Linked DNA regions of Homo sapiens: region 2 is linked to region 1. The links are contacts of gene promoters, found by promoter capture Hi-C in human tissues and cell types (Jung and others, 2019). All regions are on one chromosome and are shown on one strand. The core of a region is centred on a gene start or on the middle of the fragment in contact, and the rest is flanking DNA. Distances in the headings are between cores, read along the strand shown. Region 1 holds the start of RNF186 (ring finger protein 186). Region 2 overlaps TMCO4 (transmembrane and coiled-coil domains 4).

The links. The method cuts DNA at HindIII sites, captures the fragments that hold promoters and counts their contacts. A contact is called where the count stands out against the background at its distance.
Region 2: a fragment that was not itself captured here is called in contact with the fragment with the promoter of RNF186 in region 1 in 1 of the 25 tissues and cell types used here (pancreas).

What each region holds. Positions count from the first base shown.
Region 1 is chr1:19,814,033-19,819,966 of GRCh38, forward strand. RNF186 (ring finger protein 186) reads right to left here and starts at 1,251. Exons shown (of 1, transcript NM_019062.2): 1 at 1-1,251. The coding sequence starts at 1,069. The coding sequence ends at 386. RNF186-AS1 (RNF186 antisense RNA 1) reads left to right here and starts at 377. Exons shown (of 2, transcript NR_186008.1): 1 at 377-521; 2 at 5,211-5,470. RefSeq lists an enhancer at 2,712-3,243. The HindIII fragment of the contact is 3,016 bases long and covers 454-3,469 here.
Region 2 is chr1:19,779,242-19,785,175 of GRCh38, forward strand. TMCO4 (transmembrane and coiled-coil domains 4) reads right to left here. Exons shown (of 16, transcript NM_181719.7): 4 at 1,339-1,525. The coding sequence starts at 1,517. Among named protein-coding and RNA genes, the nearest start is that of TMCO4, 18 kb to the right of the region's middle. RefSeq lists an enhancer at 879-1,380. The HindIII fragment of the contact is 8,610 bases long and covers 1-5,934 here.

The DNA of each region.
Region 1 (5,934 bases), core at 1-2,500:
TTGCAAAAAGAATGGAATTCCAGTTCTATTCTACAATGGCATCAATACTGCAATACTTTCATCAAGTTATATAAAGAAAAACCAAGAACATTGGAATAAGAGGAACAGGAGCTTCCCCCATCTTGTCATGTTCAAGTAGTTTGTGTCTGCTCCCCTAGCCACCAACAGTTTTAGCTATGCTATCCCAAGGGCAAGTGCAAGCCTGTCATCCAAGCGTGTAATTCTTGACCCAGGCTGGCCATCTCGGTTGTGGCTTGCAAGTCCCGCTGGCATGTGATTTCCCAAAGGAGCCAGTCTTAGTCCGTAACCCCTTACCCTGTTCATTGTGGAAGTCCGGGGGCCCAAGGGCAGAAAGGGCTGCAGGGATAGCCTCATCAGAGGGCACTCAGGCAATGGAAGAGATGTGGCTGTGTTTCTGCTCTCTGCAGAAGAGAGTCCTGGAGGAGGGCCAGCAGCTGCCCCGGGTGCTGGGGAGACAGCAGAAGAGGGTGGACATCAGCAGGGCCAGGGCGATGATGAAGGTGAGCACCCATCGTAAGACACCCGGGTAGATGAAGGGCCCGATGAGGATAATGAGCAAGGCCAGCAGGAGTAGGTGCGCGGCCAGGCGCCGGGCTGCCACGTGGTTTGCACTTACTTCATCCTGTCCATCCTCTCCCACCAAGCTGGGGTGTCCTGCTGCCAAGTCAGCAGGATCCACCAGCCCCTGAGGACAGAGCGATACCTCTGTGCATGGCTGGGCCAGCTGCCCCACCACCGCCTCATGGTCGCGCAGGCTGCAGATGAGGCCCCCGGGGACGGCGGTGACCTTGCGGCACAGCGGGCAGGTGATGGACCAGGTGTTGTCCTGCACGCACAGCAGGAGCTTCAGGCAGATGGCGCAGAAGGCATGCTGGCAGGCCAGCAGCTTGGGCAACCGGGGACAGCTGTAGGGCTCCCGGCACACCAGACACTCCAGGTCACATTCTGTGGAGCCAGAATGACCCCCAGCAGGGGCCACAGCGGTGGTGGTTGTGGTGGCTCCTGCGGAGATGGGCTGGGACTGTTGCAGGGTCTTGGTGCAGGCCATTCTGGGCACAGGGACCGGTGGGACACTGTCGCTCAGCACCTGGGCATTGGCAGAGAGTGTCAGCTGGCGCCGCTGGGACTTGGATGGAATCTGCCCCTCCTTTTCACTCTGGCCAGGTGCCTGTTGACAACAGCTGTCTGACACTCCTCTCTCCCAGAGCTGCCCAGCTTGTTTCTTGGCTTACGTCGTCCCTTCAGTTATTATTATTTATTTTCTCAAAACCTAGGGTTAATCAGTAACTTGCGGGTCTGGAGACTTTGAATTGCCTGATAGGAGGGCAAAGTGGGCAAGGGTCTAGTGAATCAGGACTTTCCTGTTGGGGCCAGGTACCTGGTGGGTGCCCACAGAACTGTGGCTCAAGCTTTAGGAGGCAGCAGAATCCAACTCTCTCACCCCCACTTCCCAGGTCCCTGAACCTTTTATTAATTTTTTTTATTTAACTTTTTTTTTTTTTTTTGAGACGGAGTCTCGTTCTCTCAGGTTGGAGTGCAGTGGCCCGATCTTGGCTCACTGGCATCTACAAATCTGCACAATAAACAGACAGCCCTATGAGTCGGACATAGGTGGATTGGTGGACACTGCTTTCTCAGACACAAACTTTTGGATGTCAGGATGAGTGGAAAAAAGTTTGTTTGCACTTGGAGCACATTTACAGGCAGGTGGCCTTGGAAAGAGGAGGGGAGAGGTAAGAAAAGTGAGTGGAAGGAGGACAAAGCCCAACCCAACGCAGAAAAACAAAACCACATACAGCGCACAGGTGTTTGGCACCTGCTACTGTATTCATTTCCTTAGAGCCACAGCTGTTGTATTCACAGTTACGGGTGTATGAACTTCCCATCGGTGCCCTGCTGCACACTTCACATGCCTAATCACAGGTGTCCTGTTTTGTGCTAGGCATGCTGCGTATCCAGTAGTACTAAGAACAGCTGCCATTTATTTGGGCCTACTCTAAGCCAAGCCCTGTGCCCGGGGTCCCCAGCCCCCATTTCCCGGAACCCTGATACAGCCTTGTAGGGAAGGCTGGGAAACAAGGGCAGGGTGTGGTCAGGGTAGGCTGCTGGCTGCCTGCCAAGGGGCCTTCCATGGAGCAGGACCTTGTGGAATCTACCAGCGTCCAAGGTCTGGTTGAATCAATTTCATTGGTTCATTTGGACACAACTGGCCCCAGCCGGGTGGCGTAGGCTAAGAGGACTCATGTGAGACAGGCAGATATTAGTAACACAGCAGTTAGGAAAACGTGATTTCCTTACTTTGCCCTCAAGGGCAAATGGCGGGGTGGCATGTGCACTCCCTCAAACAAATGTTTCATTCAGGCCACTCTGAACTCAGAAGCCCGTGTGAAGGATCCTTTGGTGCTCATGTCACCTGCCAAGGGCCACACAGAGTCCTGTGCCTCTGATTCAGCTCTTTCCCTTACCCCAGTAGCTGGCACTGCAGGCCACCCTCTGTGTCCTGGAGTCACCAGCCCCAAAGGGGCTCCCTCCCTTGTGGGATCGGTAACTCCCACCTCCCCACTCCCCCTGGGCCCTCTATCTCTGAAATCCAATACTCTCACCATCCCATCCCATTTCTTCTCAACCTGTAGCTAGACCATCAGTTACCTCTGTGAAAGGAAAATAAATCGTGGGGCCCCAAAATCACTAAGCCACAAGGGAAAGTCAAGCTGGAAACTGCTTAGGGCCAGCCTGCCTCCCATTCTATTCAAAGTCACCTCTCTGCTCACTGAGACAAATGCATATCTGATTGCCTCCTTTGGAGATGCTAATCAGAAACTCAAAAGAATGTAACCATTCTTATCCACCTGTGACCTGGAAGCCCCTTCCCCACTTCAGGTCTTCCTGCCTTTGCTTCAAGTTGCTCCACCTTTTCAGATGGAACCAATGTTCATTTTACATATGTTGATTGATGTCTCATGTCCCTCTAAAACGTATAAAACCAAGCTGTGCTCTGTCCACCTTGGGCACATGTCATCAGGACCTCCTGAGGCTGTGTCACGGACATGTGTCCTCAACCTTGGCAAAATAAACTTTCTAAATTAACTGAGACCTGTCTCAGATACTAAGGTATAGATACACATCTATATCACGTTTTCCCCCAGATCAAGCTGAAGGTGGCCTTGGATCTAGGCATGTTTTTTCCCCCATGCCTAGCATTCTTTCCCCTTTTTTGGGTAACAGTTCTCTGTTTTCACTTTGGGCAACCACTGCTTCCCACCGTCATTCTGTGCTCACGGAGAGGGTGATGTCTGGCTCCAGCTCTCTGGAAGTGGGGCCCTGATACAATTCAGGACAGGCCAGTTAGCATGCTCTGCTCTGCTAGCTGCAGCCATTGGTTTGAGCGTAGGCATATAATCGAAGCCAAGCCAATGAGATTCAATTCTGAGACTTCTGTTGGAGCCCTTGAGAAGTTTCTCTTTGTGCTGGGTTTCTAAGTTAGAGGATGGAACCCTGGGGCTGCCAGGACCACAGTGTGCAGAGAACCTGCTCAAGAGTAAGGTCAGCACAAAAGAAAAATGAGAAAAGAATCAGACAAAGGCCTGATGATGTTATTTGAACACCTGAAGCAGGACACCTAGCATTGGATTTTTTCAAGGATATTAACCTATAAAATCTACCCTGATTTTTATTCTTAAGTCAGTTCAAATTGAACTTCTGTCCCTTGCAAGTGAAAGACCTCTATGTAACACAGCAATGGATGAAGAAAAGAAGCCTTTACTTGCTCTCTGACAAAGGGTCAGGCATTGATGAGACAACCAGACTTTGTACACGGACAAGAGTGACCGAATGCCTGTGTGTTACCATGCTAGAAGAGATTCTGTGTTTTCTCTGCTTGGACTTGCATTGCATAATGTTATTTTCTGTTTGTGAGACCCTAGGATGGATTAGGGATGAGAGGAGAAAAATGTGTTGAGCCACATTCATTTATAATAAGAATAGAAAATCAGGTGGGCCACACAGTGATGTTGGCTTGGCCAGTGTCCCTCTCACTTTTTTTTGAGATAGAGTCTCGCTCTGTCTTGCCCAGGCTGGAGTGCGACCTCTGCCTCCCGGGCTCAAGCGATTCTCTTGTCTCAGCCTCCTGAGTAGCTGGGACTACAGGCGTGTGCCACCACACCCGGCTAATATTGTATTTTTAGTGGAGATGGGCTTTCACTATGTTGGCCAGATCGGTCTCAAACTCCTGACCTCAGGTGATTCACCTGCCTCAGCCTCCCAAAATGCTAGGATTACAGGCATGAGCCGCTTCACCCAGCCGGCCAGTGCCTCTCTCTCTAGCCAGCTTAATGGGAAATCAAATTGTCAGAAGGTAGCTGAGTGAGGTTGAAATCAGACCAAGGGAAGTTATTTGGGGTTAGAGCCTAAAAAATAACCTTTTAACATCATTGGGCAACCACCGTTAAGAAAACATATTGGCTGGAACAACCCAAGTATTACAGAAATAAAGTAGAATGTGAAAGTTCATCTTACTGCAACCCCTGAGAAATGACCACTGTTAACAGAGCATTCCTTCCTGTTGTCCTCCTCCTACCATCTTGGCTTAGGAACAACTTTGTTTCTCAAAAGTGCCTTGCCTTAACTATCACCAGCACTGACTATAGCTGGAAATCTGGCTCCTGTCACTTTACCAGCTATGTGACCTTGGGCAAGAATTTTAACTTCACTGCAGTTCAGTTTTAAAATTTGATAAAATGGAGGCCGGGCACAGTGACTCAAGCCTGTAATCCCAGCACTTTGGGAAGCAGAGGTGGGTGGATCGCTTGAGCTCAGGAGTTCGAGACCGGCCTGGGCAATGAGGTGCAACCCTATCTCTACTAAAAATACAAAAAATAGCTGGGCCTGGTGGTGCATACCTGTAGCCCCAGCTACTTGGGAGGCCGAGGCAGGAGGATAGCTTGAGCCTGGGAGGTCGCAGTTGCGTGAGCCAAGATCGTGCCACTGCACTCCAGCCTGGGTGACAGAGTGACACTCTGTATTTAAAAAAAAGTAAATAAAATAAAATAAAACAAAATGGAGACGTTAACACTTGAGGAAATTATGGATTATTTAAGCCCTCCACCCCTGACTACAACCTGCTCACAGGAGGCTTAGTAATTTATGTACTTTGGGTTGTAACTGACCTAGGTGAAATTGATCTCTTCCAGGGACATGAGATAAGACACTTTGGTGACTGATTCGGCCAATGCTTCTTGAAGAGGAGTGAATATGGGCAGAGTCTGAGGTGGAGCCTGAAGCAGATCTACCCCAGGGGAATTCAAAAGTGTCTCCGGAGACTTAAAATGTTAAATTCATCTAGGTTTCACATTCTTCTCCATGTTCTATTTGTGCTTACTGCAACATTAGAATCCCGAAGCATGCACGAATCCTTCCAAATCTCCAAATAAAACATATTTGTTTGTTTTAATTGCTGTACAAATATGAACTCATTAATCTTGAGTAAAGCTTTTTTTTCTTTTTTCATTTGAAATGCAGTTTCTTCCATCTTATGGCTTCTCACAGCCCTGGGGTCATACGCACTCCATCGTGAGAAACACAGTCTCATGTTGGGGTGAAATTTCAAGCCTAGCTGCAGGCTGGGGAGCCGGAGCCAGTCCAGTTGAGGAAGATCATGTTGGAAATCACATGTGCAAGGAACCACACACCCATGTACCTTTGCAAAAACATGTCTGATCTGAATTTTAGGCCTCCCGTCAAGTCAGAAAGGAGTCAGGTGGCAGCACTGTTCTGAGATCAAACTGTCCACTCATCTTTGGCCTCTGTCCTGATCAGCTGACCCTCACCCCACACTCCAGTGAACACAGGGAGCCAGGTCCCAGCCAAACGCCGAGTTGCTCTCCACTCCTCCTTGCCTTGGGCTGAATGGAAACC
Region 2 (5,934 bases), core at 1,747-4,246, 33 kb before region 1:
TCTCTTCCCCCTCTGAACCTTTGGAGCCATAGTGAGCTCCTGCCTCTGCCTCACCCGCAACACTCAACCTCTTCCCAAGTCAACTCCATTCTCCCTGAGAAAAGTCTGTCCCATCTGTGTCCTCTGTCCACCACTCGGTCATTGTCCTCATTCCCCTGGATGACTCCGTTGGCCTCCTAACTGGCCCCCTCCTGCCTCCATACTCTCCCCTCTAGAATTTTTTAAGGTCAAAGCCCATGCTCTTAACAGTTCTGCTATTCTGACTCCAAATATGTGATTTAAACACACACATGGGAGGTACTGTCAATGATAGAGATGAAATATAACGATGTCATTCTTTTGCTCCCACGACCCCGTTTAAACTCATCACAGCACTCACTCATCTGTATCTGTCCCCTGTTACAATCAGCCACCTGGGCACCCCTACCTAGATGTAAGCACCTTGAGGGCAGGAGCTGGGCCTTGCTCGTCTTTGTTTCCTCCACAGGGCCATGTGCTACACCCAGCACATAGTAGGGGCTCAACAAATGCATGTTTCATGAATGAATAAATATTAATATCTTATCCGTTCCTGGACGGTGTCCTACTTGATTGGGGGATGGTATCTGTCTCATTCACATTTACCCTCCATGTACTTCAAATCATACCTGGAATACAGTAAGTGCTCAAAAAATGTTCGGTGAAGGTATAAATGAGTGAATAACTGAATGAGGGGATGTCTTATCCCCCCACCAGATTGTGAGTTCCTTAGAGCAGCAGTCCCCAACCTTTTTGGCACCAGGGACTGGTTTCAGGGAAGACAATTTTTCCAGGGACCCGGCGCAGGTAGGGTTCAGGATGAAACTGTTCCACCTCAGATCATCAGGCGTTAGTTAGATTCTCATAAGAAGCGTGCCACCTAGATCCCTCGCGTGCGCAGTTCACGATAGGGTTTGAGCTTCTATGAGAATCTAATGCTGCCACAACTCAACCTCTCTGCACTTAGATTTCTTCATCTACAGATGGGACCATACAGTGTGGACCTGGAAGAGCTGTGTCAGTAGCAAAGGACACAGCCCATGTGGCTTAGTATTCATAAAATGCTTAGAACAGGAGGCAGAGGTCAGGCAGTAATTCTCATTCACCCACCACTCACCTCCTGCTGTGCGGCCAGGTTCCTAACAGGCTACAGACCAGTACTGGTCCACGGCCTGGAGGTTAGAGACCCCTGCGTTAGAGGCAAGGACAATGACTTGCCCCTCTCTGCATTGCCTCATCGTGCCTGGCAGGCTGTTTGGCTGTCCGTAGTTGTTCCCCTGAAGAAGCATGACCTTCCCACTGCAAGACAGAAGAACTCACCTGTGTTCGGGTTCAGGAAATAACTGGGACAGGGAGATGCCACAGAGGGCAGCATAGGCGAAGCGGTTGGCCTCAGTCAGCTCCCGGCCCGTGGGCAGGTGTGGCTCCCCCTCTGCAGTGGGCTCAGCTACCAGAGGCTGCTGAGGCAGCCTCTGGCATGGCCTGTTCCACATGGCCATTCCCAGCGCTGCAGGAGAAAATTCCCAGTGAGAAATGCTTCCAGAGGTAAGCCAAGGTTACTTAAGCATGACACAGAACTTACAAACCATAAAAGGTTGATAAAGTAGGCATCATTAAAATGAAGAACTTCTTTTCATCACCTTTAGGAGAGTGAGAACACACACTACAGACCAGGATGGAGGGAGGGATCTTCAATATGTCTATCCACAAAGGTCTATACACAGTATCCAAACAACTAACTCCAGTAAGTCATTAAGAAAAAGAAACGAAGCAAATTTAAAAATGGGCAAAAGACTTGAATAGATACTTCATAAAAGAGATTCCACAGTGAGCCGAGATCGCGCCACGGCACTCCAGCCTGGCTGACAGAGCGAGACTCCATCTCAAAAAAAAAAAAAAAAAAAAAAAGATATTCCTCAGGCCAGGTATGGTGGCTCATGCCTCTAATCCCAGCACTTTTGGAAGCCGAGGTAGGAGGACTGATTGAGCCCAGGAGTTCAAGACCAGCCTGGGCAACATAGTGAGACTCCATCTCTACAGAAAAATAAAATAAAATAATTAGCTGGGCATGGTGGCACACGCCTGTAGTTCCAGCTACTTAGGAAGCTAAGGTGAGAGGATTGCTTAAGCCTAGGAGTTTAAGGCTGCAATGAGCTATGATCATTGCACTCCAGCGTGGGCTAGAGAATGAAACCCTGTCTCTTAAAAAAAAAAAAAACCCAATAGCCAATAAGTATGAAAAGATGTTCAACATCGTTAGTCATCAGAGAAATGGAAATTAAAATCCCAATGAGACACTAACTCTCACCTATCAGAATAGCTAAAACTAAAAAGACTGAGAATACCAAGTGCTGGTGAGGATGAAGAGCAAACAGAACTTTCTTTTTTTTTTTTTTTTTTCTTTTGAGATGGAGTCTCGCTCTGTCGCCCAGGCTGGAGTGCAGTGGCACGATCTTGGCTCACTGCAAGCTCCGCCTCCTGGGTTCACATCATTCTCCTGCCTCAGCCTCCCGCGTAGCTGGGACTACAGGCGCCCACTACCACACCTGGCTAACTTTTTGTATTTTTAGTAGAGACGGGGTTTCACTGTGTTAGCCAGGATGGTCTCCATCTCCTGACCTCGTGATCCGCCCGCCTTGGCCTCCCAAAGTGCTGGGATTACAGGCATGAGCCACCACGCCTGGCTGCAAACAGAACTTTCATACACTGCTGGTGGGAGTGTACATTGGTATAACTATTTGGAAAATGGTTTGACAATATCCACTAAAGCTAAACATATGTCTTCCCTATGCTCTGGCAATTCCACTCCTGAGAAATGAGGACTTAAGTCACGAAAAGACACATACATGAATGCTCACAGCAACTTCATTCACAATAGTCCCAAACTGGCAACAACCCACACGTCTATCACAGTAGAATGGATAAATGGTCATATTCATACTGTGAAACATTACACAGCAATGGAAAGGGAATGAACTACAGCAAACATGAATGAATCTCAGACAAAATGATACACAGAAAGCCATTCACGAGAGAGTACCTACCATGGGATTCCCTTTATATGAAACTGAAAAATGCTAAACCCAATGTATGGTGATGGAAGTCAGATGAGGGGTTACATGTGGGAGGGAGTATTGGCTCAGAATGGGTACAAAGGAGGTTTCTGGGTGAAGGAAATGATCTCTATCTTGACCTGGGTGGTCATCATATGGGTATAAATATATTTAAAAATTCCCTGAACTGTATAGTTAATATTTATGCACTTTGTGTATGGTATACCTCAAAGGAAGGAAGGAAGAAGGAAAAAAAGGGAGGAAGGTCTCCTCTTTGTTCTCCCTCCTTCTTTTCCTTCCCTCTATTCTTTCCTTCCTTCCCAGGGGGAAAAGGGAAAGGGAGGAGAAGAGTAGGAAGAGGAGGGAGAGAAAAGGAGAGAGGGGACACGCCAAGAAGGCATCCAAGAAGCAGAAAGAACCCTGGGAGCCACCAGGAAGGGTACAGGGAAGGGTGCCAGCCTCTACTACAGGGGATCAAGGATATGAATGCAGGCTCAGGACCAGACAGACCTGGGCGTGAAAACAAGCACCGCCACTTATTAGATATGGGACCCTAGGCAACTCAACCTCTCTGTACTTAGATTTCTTCACCTACAGATGGGACCATACAGTATCTACCTAGAAGAGCTGTGTCAGTAGTAAAGGACACAGCCCATGTGGCTTAGTACTCGTAAAGCACCTAGAATAGAGCCTGGCACAGGGTTCATGCTATATAAATGCTTGTTTAAAAAATAAAGGCACAAAATGATCAACAAACAAATAAGTAAAATGCTTGGCATGGTGCCTGGCACATAGCAAAGGTTTAATAATAACAAGACCTAACATTACTGAGTTATTACTGGGTGTAGGGCACTGGGGTTGCAATTTTAACATGCATTGTCTCAGCAGACTCTAGAGGCAAGTAGGACTGTAATGTTCAGTTTGCAAATTAGGAAACAGGCTCAGAGAAGTAACTGGGCTCCCCTGATACAGCCAGTCAATGGCAGACATATAGGGCCCAAAGACAGAACTGTTGGCCACCAACTCTGTTTTAAATATTCATCACATGGCCAGGAGTCTTCTAGTCTAATAACCACACTCCAAACAGTTATTTGTTCATAAGTTTGTTCCCATCTAGCTGAGCAATAAAAATTTTTGTTCTCAAAATATTACTTCTGTAGAGGAGTTATTTAAAAGTCTGTCCACAACTAATATTTCATTTGTTTTCAAAACAACCCTGAGGTAGTTCAAAGCAACAAACCAACACTTTTACAGCACATAACTGTTTACAAAGCATTTTCCAGTCTGCTTAATTCTTATAACTACCATGTAAAGTTAAGTAGGACATGAACCATTACGATTCCCTCTTACAACCGAGGAACAGGCTCAGAAAGACCAAGCAATTTTCCCAAACTTACACAGTAAGTGATGAGATCCAAACCAGACTTTTGACTCCAAACCTTGAGCTCTTTCCTCTACACCAGCACAGGGATCTTATTTCCCCTGTTTCAGATGGAGAAACGGAGGCCCAGAGAGGTTAAGACCTCGCCCAAAGTCACCCAGCAAGACTGGCCTCAATGGTTGCTCTAGGAACCCACGTTTGAGATTTGCAGCAAATTTCCCTGGCTCAGAGGGTCAGCTCAGACCATGGTGGTGGGAACAGGGGCAACAGCATAAACCATGAACTAAGGGCAGTGCCAAGGGCAGCACTAGCCTGATGTCAGCAGGTCAGAAATTTCCACTACATTTAATCAACTCCACGTGCCACTTGGAGGCTATATTGATCGCACCTATTACTCAGAGGAGCCCAAGGTAGTATTTTACTGAACTGGTATCTGGGAAGCCCCACGCCAGTTCTTAGCTCAATAATAAACAGCTTTCTGATCAGGGAAGGGTAAGCTGGCCTGCTTCTAACCACAGAGGTATGAGGATGTGTCTAGAGTACAAAAGGCTAAGCTCAGGCTGGGCGCGGTAGCTCACGCCTGTAATCCCAGCACTTTGGGAGGCCGAGGCGGGTGGATCACTTGAGGTCAAGAGTTTGAGACCAGCCTGGCCAACATAGTGAAACCCCGTCTCTACTAAAAATACAAAAATTAACTGTGCATGGTTGGGTGTGCCTGTAATCCCAGCTACTCGGGAGGCTGAGGCAGGAGAATCACCTGAATCTGGGAGGCAGAGGTTGCAGTGAGCTGAGATTGTGCCACTGCACTCCAGTCTGGACAACAGAGCAAGACTCCATCTAACAAAATAATAATAATAATAAAGCTAAACTCAGACCAAATTCATTCATTCATTCAACACAATTTCTCCTGATGCCCTACAATGCATTCTCTACATAGTGGCCTCAGTGACCTTTTTGTCACATAGACCAGTCATGTCACTAGGTTGCTTAAAAGCCTGCAAAAGCCTCCCATCACATCAGGATAAATTCCAATCTTGGTATGATGGCCTAAGAGGGGTGTCCAATCTTTTGGCTTCCCTGGGCTACACTGGAAGAAGAATTGGTTTGGGCCACACATGAAATACACTAACATTAAATGATAGCTGATGCACTAAAAAAAAAAAAAAAAAAAAAAAATTTCGCAAGACAACCTCATAATGTTTTAAGAAAGTCTATGAATTTGTGTTGGGCCGCATTCAAAGCTGTCCTGGGCTATATGTGGCCCACAGGCCGAAGATTGGACAAGCTTAAATGTCCTGTGCAATCCGGTTGCTGCCTGCCACTGAACTCCATCTCATGTCCCCACACCGGTCTTGTTCACTACGCTACAGCCACACTGGCTGTCTTTCTGCTCATTCCCTCCAGGCCCTTGCACCTGCCATTCTCCCTGCTGGGACCACCCTTCCCTGACCATCACATCATCTGGCCTCAGCCCAGATGTCA